Regions from separate parts of the Homo sapiens genome. Here regions 1 and 3 are each linked to region 2. The links are contacts of gene promoters, found by promoter capture Hi-C in blood cells and fetal thymus (Javierre and others, 2016). All regions are on one chromosome and are shown on one strand. The core of a region is centred on a gene start or on the middle of the fragment in contact, and the rest is flanking DNA. Distances in the headings are between cores, read along the strand shown.

Region 1 (4,074 bases), core at 101-2,600, 600 kb before region 2:
GTAACAACTACCTGTTAGGCTGACTTAAAAAGAAGGATTTAGACATGTTAATAAACGATCTACACTTCGGTAACTATTAGTCATGCTTGCCCAAGCAACTCAAGAGTAAGGAAAATATCCATTTTACTAAATTACAAGACTAAAGAACTATTAGGATAATTATCCCATAACAAATGCCAGAAATAAGTGGTTATATTGACTTAATTTTATAGACACTTTCCAAAGTATATATTCTAGCCTTACCAAAAAAAGGGCAGTACCATTGCTCAGATTTTACTAATCCATGAGCCCCTGGGAAGAAAGCCCTAGGTTTATCCTATAATGGCAGCTGGCCACTTTTTCTGTGGACATAAAAGAAATTCAATTTCTCCGGACACTTTTTTCCTCTGCTACCAATGAGCTCCAGGGACTGGTAAACTCCTAAAGGAAAACTATTAAAAAAAAAAAAAAAAAAAACCATAATCCAGAAAAAACAAAATCTAGCTAGTTAAACTATCACCAATAAGAAACATAAACAGGAACCATTTTCAGTTGCTTGGAATCAAAAGCTCAATTTTTAAAAAGCTTCAAAACAAGAGTTTACTGTTTCCCGGACATCTGCAGTTGAAAAAACACAAAAACAGTTCTGGAAAGTGCTATGGTTTACTTCATACTGAGTGATTCCCAGGTGCAGAGGGGACTACTGGGGCAGAATAAAAAATGAAATGAGCATGAAGCAAAAGTTTTTCAGAGCCACATTCATATGCACCTTTCTCCAACCTGGTTGGTGACTCTTCAGGTATAAATGTGGCATGGGGTGGATTGTTCGAGAACAGCCTTATCCTTGGGAGAGTTTAATGTACATTTCCCTCTGCCAGGCTCCACACAGACTTCTAACTTGGGGATCCTTGGAAGAAGGGCCTGGCTTAATATAATTTGTCATTGTCCCCATGTCTGGAACAGCAGGCAGATTCAAAACCTTTAAGATGGGGAGTGCCACAGCTTTAGAAGCAGAACTGCCAACCAGCTGTGTATGTGCCTCAGACTGTGGAACAAGCAATAAAAAGAAAAAAGGAAGAAGAAAATTGCCAACTTCTTGCAACATGGAGCCAGAACTCTCAGAGCCAAGCTGGTCATTTTTCCACCCAGCCAGCCCCAAGGTTGGCATCTGACATCAGTGTGGAGAATGACATCAGAGAGTCTCCAGTCACCTGCCTGCCTGACAGGCTTGCTCAAGAAATGCCATGAGAGCCAGCAAAGATGCAAGGAGGAGAGGAGGTGAGAGGAGGTGAAAGGAGGACTGATGTCGGTCAAAGTTCCCTTGCTTTTTGTTAAACAGACTACTGTTTTGACCAACAATGTAGAGCTAGTTTTGCAGAACAAGATGAAAGAACAAAGCATTTTTATTTTGGAGTTCAGAAGGAAAAAATAAGACTAGCAAATTTAGATTTAGTTTCCTGATTTGCAAGCAAGGAAAACTGACCTTGGCTAGTGTTATGGACTGTAAGTTTGTGTCCTCCCCCAGAGTAAGTTCATATGTTGAAGCCGTAACCCCACAGTGTGGACTGTATTTTGAGTAAGGAAGTAATTAAGGTTAAATGAGTTCGTAAGAGTGGGACCCTGATCCAACAGGATTAGTGTTCTTATAAGAAGAGACATCGGGGAGCTTGCTCCCTCATGCATGCTCTGTCCTTTCTCCTCTCTTCCCACATACATGCACAGAGGTTTCTTTTGGCCATGAGAGGCCAAAGTGGCCATCTGCAAGCAGGGAACAGAGCCCTCACAAGAAACCATAACACAAACTTACAGTCTACAGCCCCTGCTGGAACGTCAATCTTGGACTTTCAGCCTCCAGAACTGTGGGGAAATTAATTTCTGTTGTTTCAGCCTTGCAGTCTGTGGCAGCCTGAGCAGACTAATCCAGATGGCTAACTCCAGCCAAGTGAAATGAGGGGCTTGAGGAACTGACCAGAAGCTGCAGAGCCAGCCTGGAAGCAGGCAGAATCCAAGCCAGCTCCAGAGAACCAGGAATCAAGAACTAAGCACTGGTCAGGGCACCACCACTGAACTACAGAAATTCCAACTGTTTCTCTCATTTTTCCATCACTCACTCAAAATTCAAAGTCCCAGGAAGATGTGTCTGATTTCTAAGCTTTGGTGATATGCCACACCCATACCCTACCCCAGGCTATGCCAGGATAGGGAGAGAAAAAATCTTGTCCTTTTCACTTCCATAACAGCTAACTGACATAGGGATTGTCCCAAGACATCACAGTGAGCAAAGCCTTGCCTCAAAAGGAAATCAGGATGTTTCTAGGAAGGACGAATGAATGCTAGGTAGTATAAACATTTCAAATGTCCATTACACTAATGATCATTACAAATTCCATCATTCTCCTGGTATGCATACTGTGTGTACCTAGGATAGATTTCTGTGGCTATAGATTCAGGAACAGTGAATCCCAGAGGGGCACCTGCCCACAGGCAGAACGACAGGGTTGGACTTTCCCTCTGAGATCCAGACCTACACAGCATCTGTCCATGTAGCTAACTTCCTGATGTCAGGACTATCTACATAGTATTTGGCAGTCCTTGATCAAAATATTGATAAAAAGAAATGTCACTGACTACTCTATACTGTCATTCATTCATCAGTTCCATCACATTCTAAATACCTTCTGATTGTCCAATTATGTTTGTTGAACAGCTGTTGTCTATCATGCTTTTTGCAAGGAGTTTTATCCACACCAGCTTATTTATTCTTTAAAATAGCCCATGAAGTCAAAAAGGTCAACACTGAGGAACAGAGAAGGTAACAAAATAGTAGTCTAGTTCCTATCCTCTATGACCTTGGAAAACAACAAAAACTACAAATTACATAAACACAAAATAACCAGAGGGTAAATAAGCGACCTATGAAGAAGTAGGAAATTGGTGTAAACTAATTGTACCAGTACCAATAAAAGTGGAAAATACCTGGTTTAAGGTCTTGAATCTGCCACTTGACCTCAGACAAGTAATGTCTTTTCTGGGACTCAATTTCCTCAACTGTTCAGTAAGGCATGTATTAAATCACCTATATGGGGACTTGCAGCTTAGAGAGGATGTCATTCAATGCCTCCTAATGAGTTGAGTAAACAGAGTGGTGTGGAATTAGTCAGGAAAGGTTTCTTGAAAGGGGAGACATTTTCAACCTCTTCTCTGCCCGCCTAGAGGCCAAGTCCAGTGATTGCAGCTCAGCTCAGGCCTTACCCTACTTGACACATCTGTTGCCTCTGCACTGCTGACTGGTCTACCTTGCTTCACATTTCCTCCTCCTTCATGTCCCTGCAGCTCTCTTCTCCTGGTTCTCTTCTTGCTCCCCGTTCTCTTCTTGCTCCCTGGACTCCCCTCTTCTGGCTCCTCTTCCTCAATGTACCCTTAATGCCAATGATCCTGAGATCTGTCTTTGGCTTTTCTCTTATTCTTCCACATATTCTGACAATTTCATCCATACCTGCAGCTTCAAATACTAATTGCACAGAGCCTTATCTTTCTCTTTAATGGAGATACCTTCCCCAAATTCTGGATTCATTTATCAACCTTTATCAACCACCTACTAGATAACATGTTCTCAAAGGCCTTGACTGCCCAGGTTCAAAACTGAACTCGGAATATCCCCATCCACAACCTTGCTTTTGCCCTGGTTCCATGAATGATGCTGCAATCTACCCAGGCATCTGGAAGTCATCAGACCTCCCTTACATCACTGGTCATTAGGTCCTATCATTCTGCCTTCAACATGTCTCACAAGTCCTACCCCACCTTTTCATCCCCACTGTAACATCTCAGGATAAAGCCTCAGCATCCATCTCTCCTGATCACCCTGCCTTCCCATTCCGAACACACCAGAGTAGTCTTTCTAACATTTAATCATGACCCCCTCCCCACCAGCTCAATATCCTTCATATGTCAAACGCTGATGGGATAAAATTCGAACTCCTTTACAAGGCAAATTAGATCTCTGTACCTGCCCCCACCGGAGCTTGTATTGCCCTGAACTGTGCTGTAGCTGCTTGACTGTGTCTATCTCATCATCATATGCCCACTGCTTAG
Region 2 (3,572 bases), core at 854-3,353:
TGAGTAGCTGGGACTACAGACACTTGCCACTCCACCCGGCTGATTTTTGTATTTTTAGTAGAGATGGGGTTTCACTGTGTTAGCCAGGCTGGTCTCGAACTTCTGACTTCAAGTGATCCACTCGCCTTGGCCTCCCAAAGTGCTGGGACTACAGGCATGAGCCATCATGCCCCGCCCATTTATCATTTTACATCACGTAAGTAAAATTTACAAAACGGTACAATCTTTTAATATTGGCTCCACAGATCTATTTAAGTACAACCATAGTCTAAAATAATTTTTCATTTTGCATGATGTATTAAAGACTTTCAGTATTGTAGTACTGATTTTTTAATGCAGTCTTAACTTTTTTAATGCTTTAAGTTAAGCATGAATGTACTCATAGGAACCTACAAGCTAGTATATCAACCTACCCCCATAAATTTGCAATTAGAAAAGAAAAATACATCAAGAAATATTTCAAATGATGATATACTGTAACCACAGACAGAACCAAGTAAACAAATGGAATTACATTCTTTCTCACCAACGACAAATAGCTTTGTTTTTGAAGCTGTTTTTAGTTAGAATGTCTTAAATTCAGACCAGCTTTAACACTCTGAAAACTCAATGGAAACAAATATGAACCAAGCCTGCATAGGGACAGGTCAGCAAGTCACACATCAGTAAACACTTCTTATGCTTAATTTTTAAAAATTGCTTTCCGCTGAATCCTTTAAACTCCTTCCTTGCACTCTTGATTCAGAAAGGCTTGAGTCGGCTGGACCCGTGGCTCACGCCTGTAATCCCAGCACTCTGGGAGGCCGAGGTGGGCGGATCACCTGAGGTCAGAAGTTCAAGACCAGCCTGACCAACATGGAGAAACCCCGTCTCTACTCAAAATATAACATTAACCGGGCGTGATGGCGCATGCCTGTAATCCCAGCTACTAGGGAGGCTGAGGCAGGAGAATCGCTTGAATCCAGGAAGCGGAGGTTGCGGTGAACCGAGATCGCGCCTTTGCACTCTAGACTGGGCAACAAGAACGAAACTCCGTTTCAAAAAAAAAAAAGGCAGGGGGGCTTGAGTCTAAATTAGATCGATTTACTATCACATCCACAGCTCCACTCATAAGGTAAAAAGTTGTGTTTTCCACCAGAATGCAAAAATCTAATTGCTTCTCACTTCCTGAAACTAGTAGGGGTTATCATGAAGTTACTATGCCATGAGTATTCCTTGTATTGTTTATCACTAACCGATAAGTTTCATCTAACTTCCCATTTTTGTCTCATACTTATCATTTTCTATAAATAAAATACTGCTGAATGAATTACTTATCTTAGCATTGATCCTGAAGGCGGCATGGAAACCTTTCTCCAGCTCACCCACTTTGACCCTCAAAGGCCTCCTGGCCTCATCATCTCCCAAAACTATAATAATTAGATGGCTCTGCTCTTTACCATTTTCCCCTGAACCTAAGTGAACTTGGCTTTCTTCAGTTTCTGCGTGTTCGCCCATTCCCAATTAATCTTGCCACGTTTATCCCAAATCCCTGCCTCTTTATCCCCGTGGTGAATGTTCCCTCGCCCCCTGTGCCTCTGGGTTTGTCAATATCCACAGCCCTTTAAAAATCGCATTCCAAATATGCACTGAGTACCTAAACCTGATCTTCGAAACCAAACTGCGCCTCCCACTTCACCAAGAATCTGATCAGGACCCTCCCTCTTTCCCAACCACTCCCGGCACAGCTTTCTCTCTTGCTACGGATTCCCAACTTTCAGCTCCACCTTTGCTTCCCAATTCGGCCGACAAAACTTCGGGCCATTTGCTCCGCTCTCCTGAATTTCTCCGCAGTCCTCTCCTGGGCGCCGCGCTCCTTCCCGCCCTGCCCGCGCGGCCGCCACCGCGACCGCGGCCACCAGCAGCTCCAACCCAGACCTCCAGCGCCCCCGCCCCTCCTTCCCGAGACCACTGGCAGCCGTTGGCGCGCTGGACCCCGCGGCAATCACCTTCTTCCTCCGCCATCGTTTCTGCGAAGGCTAGGGCGCCCTGCGGCTCCCGCGCGGCCCAGACTCTCCCTCCCTCCGCGTCGCCGAACCCCTCGGCCTCCGGGGGCCCGCTCCTGGCCGCCGCGCCCCCACTTCCTGACCCACCCCCCTCCGGTGTCGCCGCCAACCGCGTCCCCGCAGGCGGCCCGGGAACCAGAGTGTTGGGAGAGGGGAGCGGCCGGAGCGTTTCGCTGGGGCGCCGGGGCCTGCGCGGGCAGGAAGGAGACTCCACGCCGGGAGTGCAGCCCACAGCTGTAGCTCCTGGCCGCCGCCTGCCCTGGAAAGCGAGACTGGTGGGTCTCGCTGCAGCCCCGCCCCTCGTCCTACTCTTCCCAAAAAGTGAGGGCATGCTTTCCGCCACTTTTGTGACTCCGCGACTTAGCGAGTCAGAGACGATCATCAGCGACACCTCCCAGGTCCAGCCTCCATTCCCGCCCCATTTTACATGGAGGAAACTCAGATCTAATGTGGTGGAAGTCACAAAGCCGGTCAGAGGCAGAAGTGGAACCCGGTGCTCCAGAACTGCCATCGCTGCCTGCGTTCTCGCTGGGATTTCAGAGTGCAGCAGCAAAACGTTCTCAGTTGGCGCTTTGGTTTCGTAGGCCACTTGACCATTACAAGAAAGAAGCTTGTGCTTGGAACTTGTTTTAAATCACCAAAACTGGTTTAGCAAATATGTTGCATTTCATGATATTCTGGGGGGGGGGGCGGGGAGATAATACAATGGTCTGGGGTAGAGCAGTGTGCAATTAGATATTACAGAGCAATAGGGAATAATTTTAATTTGTTAAACTGTGTTTAACTTTCATTATATCTAGCATTCTTCAACAAACACCGGGATCTTTTCCCCAACAGTACTCAGAAGTAAATTTAGTAAATGAAATATACCCATTTTAGATCGGGAGAAACAGGCACGAGAATTCACTGAAGTCATGGGGTAATTATGGACACCCCATTATTAGCAGGCAGCAAGATTCTCCTAATAGCACCTTTAAGTTAGGATATTTGGGGAGAGGCTATCATTTTTCAGTGATGTGCAGAAACGGTTCCAGGAACTTTTTTTTTTTTTTTTTGAGACAGAGTCTCGCTCTGTCGCCCAGGCTGGAATGCAATGACTCGATCTAGGTTCACTGCAACCTCCGCCTCCCAGGTTAAAGCGATTTTCGTGCCTCGGCCTTCCCAGTAGCTGGGACTACAGGCGCAAGCCACCACTTAATTTTCATATTTTTAGTAGAGATGGGATTTCACCATGTTGGTTGGCCAGGCTAGTCTCCAACTCCTGGCCTCAAGTGATCCGCCCACCTTGGCCCCCCGAAGTGCTGGGTTTACAGGTGCCCACCACCACGCCCGGATAATTTTTTGTACTTTTAGTAGAGAAGTGGAGGGGTGTGGTTTCACCATGTTGCCCAGGCTGGTCTTGAAATCCTGACCTCAAGTGATCCACCGGCCTCAGCCCCACAAAGTGCTGGGATTACAGGCATGAGCTACCACGCAGGGCCTCCAGGAACTCTTTTTATGTCTGGTTCCCCGTAAAGATGTTTTTTG
Region 3 (3,570 bases), core at 258-2,757, 640 kb after region 2:
CTGTCGGAGAGAAAACCAAGACATGGGTAAATTTAGACTGTTGCGGTGCAAGGGGCTGGGCATGCTGGCACGCCTTTAGAGCCACGTTTCCCGCAGAAACCAGCCCCCAGGTCACCGTGTGTGTCCCCAAGGGTGGGAGTTACCCCAGTACCTCCAGCCTGGTCCTCACTCCGGCTCTCATCCTCTCTGCGTTCCAACACCATTCTGGCTTCTCTGGGCTCAGGTGCTCTTGTTTCGGATTCTATCATTTCCCTTGAGGGGAGTGATATTTCCACAACTGGCCCCTGAGGCTTGTGTTTTGACTGTGTCCTTGGCTCTTCTTTGTCACTGCCACCCTAGGCTGCAAGCCCCTCCCTGGGTGGTGTCCTACACCTCCCCAGCCACCTGCAGAGACACCTGACCCTCTGCTGCCCTCTAGTGTCACAAACCATACCGCAGCACCTGGATGCAGAGTTAACTGGCTGTAGAGTTAACAGCCTTTTAAAGGCTGACAAGGAGCCAGTTCCTATACTGGCTCAGCTGCTTCCCACTAGGCTTGTTTAAAATCACCACAGCAGCCTGGTACGGCAGCATCGTGGGGTCTTGGGAGCCTTCCTGCATAGGTGGCTCCTAAGGCTCACTCCACAACCGCTTGCCTCTTTTCCGTATCTGCTTCTGAGTGTGTGAAATAAAAAAGCTGGAGGGCAAATGAATAACCCTCCTTTTCCTATCTCGGCTTTGGTCCCGACAGAGACCATACATAACACAGAAGGGAGAGAAAGAGCCCTTGTTTATTGCGTTTGCCATTTGGGACCAATTATTGAGAAATGGCACATTTACTGAGTGGACAGTTCACTAACTACTGTAGTGATTTCATCTCAAATGATCCAGAGTCTTCCATGAAAAGAGCATGGGAAGCTTTGAAGGGCCAAATAAAAATGAAGACTCCTCATCTGCATTTTTTAGTGTAGTACAAACCCCATACCCTAGTCCAATGCTTTTCAAACTTTAGTGGGCACCAACATCTCCCAGAAGAATTTTTTAAATCCAGATTCCTAGGCCCTGTTTTTAAAGATTCTGCTTTATCAGGTCTGGGCTAGTCCCCGAGGATCTGCATTTCTCACAAGCTCCTGTGTGGTGCTGGTGCTGAGGTCCCTGGACCTCACTCAGAGTAGCACTCCTCCTGTCTGCCAGCATCTCCCAGGAAAATGTCGTGGAGATTAGCATTTATGTAAAAAAAAAAAAAAAAAAAAAAAAAAAAACCCACAAACAGGAACTTAATAGCTTCTGATGTACAAGGTACAATTATGCAATAAGATAGTCTTATAAGCCAGGATTTTTTTTTGAGAAACAATTTTCCATATCTGGAAATCGACCCCTTCTTTTAGCGCATAAAAAGAAAAATCAGACTTGAAACACTTAGCAGAGTGCTAAAAGTATAATTGGAATATTTGTAACACAAAGAAAGGGTAAATGCTTGAGGTGATGGATACCTTATTTACCATGATGTGATCACTATGCATTGCATGCCTATATCAAAATATCCCATGTACCCCATAGATACACCTACTATGTACCCATAAAAATTAATAAAAAAAATAAAGAGCTGGGGGAGGCCAATCCAGCCAGCAAGTGCCACTGGATCCCAGCAAGCTGGGGGAGGTCAGATCGTGACTAGGGGAGCTCTCCAGGCACAGGCTTCTACTGCAAGGGCCAGGAGGGCAGGATGTACCCAGCCAACTAAGGAACAGCCTCCAGAAGACTAGAGAAGTAGAGAATGTTGCCCTGGGCCACTGCTGCTAGCATAGATGATGTCTTTGTGCACATTAGAAGAAGGTACTTTTTTGGGCGGAGGGAAGGCAAAAGGCACCCCCCTGGGGTGGCCAATTAGAAAGAGGTGCCCCTTTCTCCAGGTTGATGCAGCTCTGGCTAGGTCATGGCTTGGCATCTCAATCACACTGTGGCATGTTCAAGACCCAAACAGACCAACAGCAGCTAGACCAAATGCTTCTCTGCCACATCCCTCCCCCTAGACACCATGAGAAAATTAGGAAGAGCAGAGGCTAAGAGCATTTTTATTCCAGAGATTCCATCTACCTAAACAGGCTATTTAAATTACCAGAATGCACTAAGCTTTGAGCAGAGATAGACATATGACTAAAATTTTGTATTTTTTTCTGCTTGGAAAATAGGGGCTCAGGAGAAAGGCCAGGTTGGCGCTGGACTAGAATTTCTGGTAGATTGTTGGTGAAGATGGCTGCAATGATTCCTCCCGCCCCTCTGCACGCCCCTCTGCAAGAGAGCCATGCTGCTCCTCCCAGCCAGAGAGGGAATCTGTTTCTCCACCCCTTGAATCTGGGCTTGGCCATCTGGCTTTCTCTGGCCCAGGAAATATTAGTAAACATGAAGCAAGCAGAGGCTTACAATGTACTTGTGGCTGGGCCTTGCTTTCTCTCTCATCTGGGATGATGACCACGTGCAGAGAAGCCCACCTGAGAAGTGCAGAAGCAATTCGGCCCAAACCCCTGCACTAAGGGAGTCGACTAAACTCTAGCATTGCTTTTAGTAGCCCCCACCGCCCTCTTGAGTTCCTGTCTGAAAAGGGGCAAGGCTGCCAAATAACTTAGTTTGTCCCAGCCAACACCTGGAGACAAGCCCTAGACCTTACTTCTTAGAGCATTTATTTAAAAAAAAAAAAAAAAAAAAAAAGCTTACAATTGTGAATGCCTCCTCTGTCCCTGTGAGATGGATATGTATCTCTACAACCCAAGAGTGTCTTTCTCAGGGACTTGCAGGCCCTTCCTTTGAAATGAAATCATCAGAAAGTCCAGGGCCCCTGCCTCCCAGTCTCGGTGGGAGGGTAGGAGTCTGACTTTGATAAGCCCATTAGCAGACACAGCTGGCCTGATTGCGTTTATGTTGACCAACTCTCTACCTGTTTTTGGTTTTTTTGATTTTGTTTTTTTTGGTAAATTTTTCACCTCCTCACTGTGCTGAGCCCCCACTTGCTCCTTCTCCTTACTCCCTGATTCTCCCTTTAAAACACCCAGTCACCCCTTTGCAAATCTGAATGGAGCTCAGCTCTTGCCCCACTGCAGTAGTTTTTAAATAAAATATCTTGTTACTGCCTTTAACTAATGTCCAGCTCTGTTTGTTTTTGGCAGGCCCCAGCTGTCCCAGAAATCAATTCCTAGCTGAGTGCCCAGAGACCTAAGGGAAGTGATCTTAGACCTTCCAGTTCCAAACCAGCCAGCCAGCCCAGCTCAAAGAACCACTAAACCAGTAATAAATATTTGAGAAATAATAAAACTGCTTGAATCCACTAAATTTTGGGGTAGGCTATTACACAGCAGGAGCTACCGGATAGGATTTTAAAATTATGTTTTTTTCCTGTAAAGTCAGGTTATAGAGCAAGCTAAATTTGTGACTCCATTCCACTTGTTATGATTCTAATAACCCAACTAAAAGCGTGCAAATTAAATCGACTAGGGGAGTTGGATTGCCTAGCAAAATGCAGGGCAGATGGATTTTTTAAATCATTAAGCTGCACTCTGGGCTAAAACAGTCAAGTTTACCAGGGAAAATAAATAT

Evidence for each region. Contacts are between HindIII fragments. The CHiCAGO score rates a contact against its expected background, and 5 or more counts as called.
Region 1: a fragment that was not itself captured here is called in contact with the fragment with the promoter of DPY19L4 in region 2 in 1 of 17 cell types (neutrophils); the score reaches 5.9 in neutrophils.
Region 3: a fragment that was not itself captured here is called in contact with the fragment with the promoter of DPY19L4 in region 2 in 1 of 17 cell types (naive CD8 T cells); the score reaches 5.4 in naive CD8 T cells.

Annotation. Positions count from the first base shown.
Region 1 is chr8:95,312,543-95,316,616 of GRCh38, reverse strand. The region is part of intron 1 of CFAP418-AS1 (CFAP418 antisense RNA 1); the gene reads right to left. Among named protein-coding and RNA genes, the nearest start is that of TRS-AGA2-5, 45 kb to the right of the region's middle. The HindIII fragment of the contact is 1,567 bases long and covers 567-2,133 here.
Region 2 is chr8:94,718,431-94,722,002 of GRCh38, reverse strand. DPY19L4 (dpy-19 like 4) reads right to left here and starts at 2,103. Exons shown (of 19, transcript NM_181787.3): 1 at 1,989-2,103. The coding sequence starts at 2,004. RefSeq lists a silencer at 1,976-2,295 and an enhancer at 2,056-3,010. The HindIII fragment of the contact is 11,065 bases long and covers 1-2,657 here.
Region 3 is chr8:94,076,779-94,080,348 of GRCh38, reverse strand. No RefSeq gene overlaps it. Among named protein-coding and RNA genes, the nearest start is that of CDH17, 130 kb to the left of the region's middle. The HindIII fragment of the contact is 1,215 bases long and covers 900-2,114 here.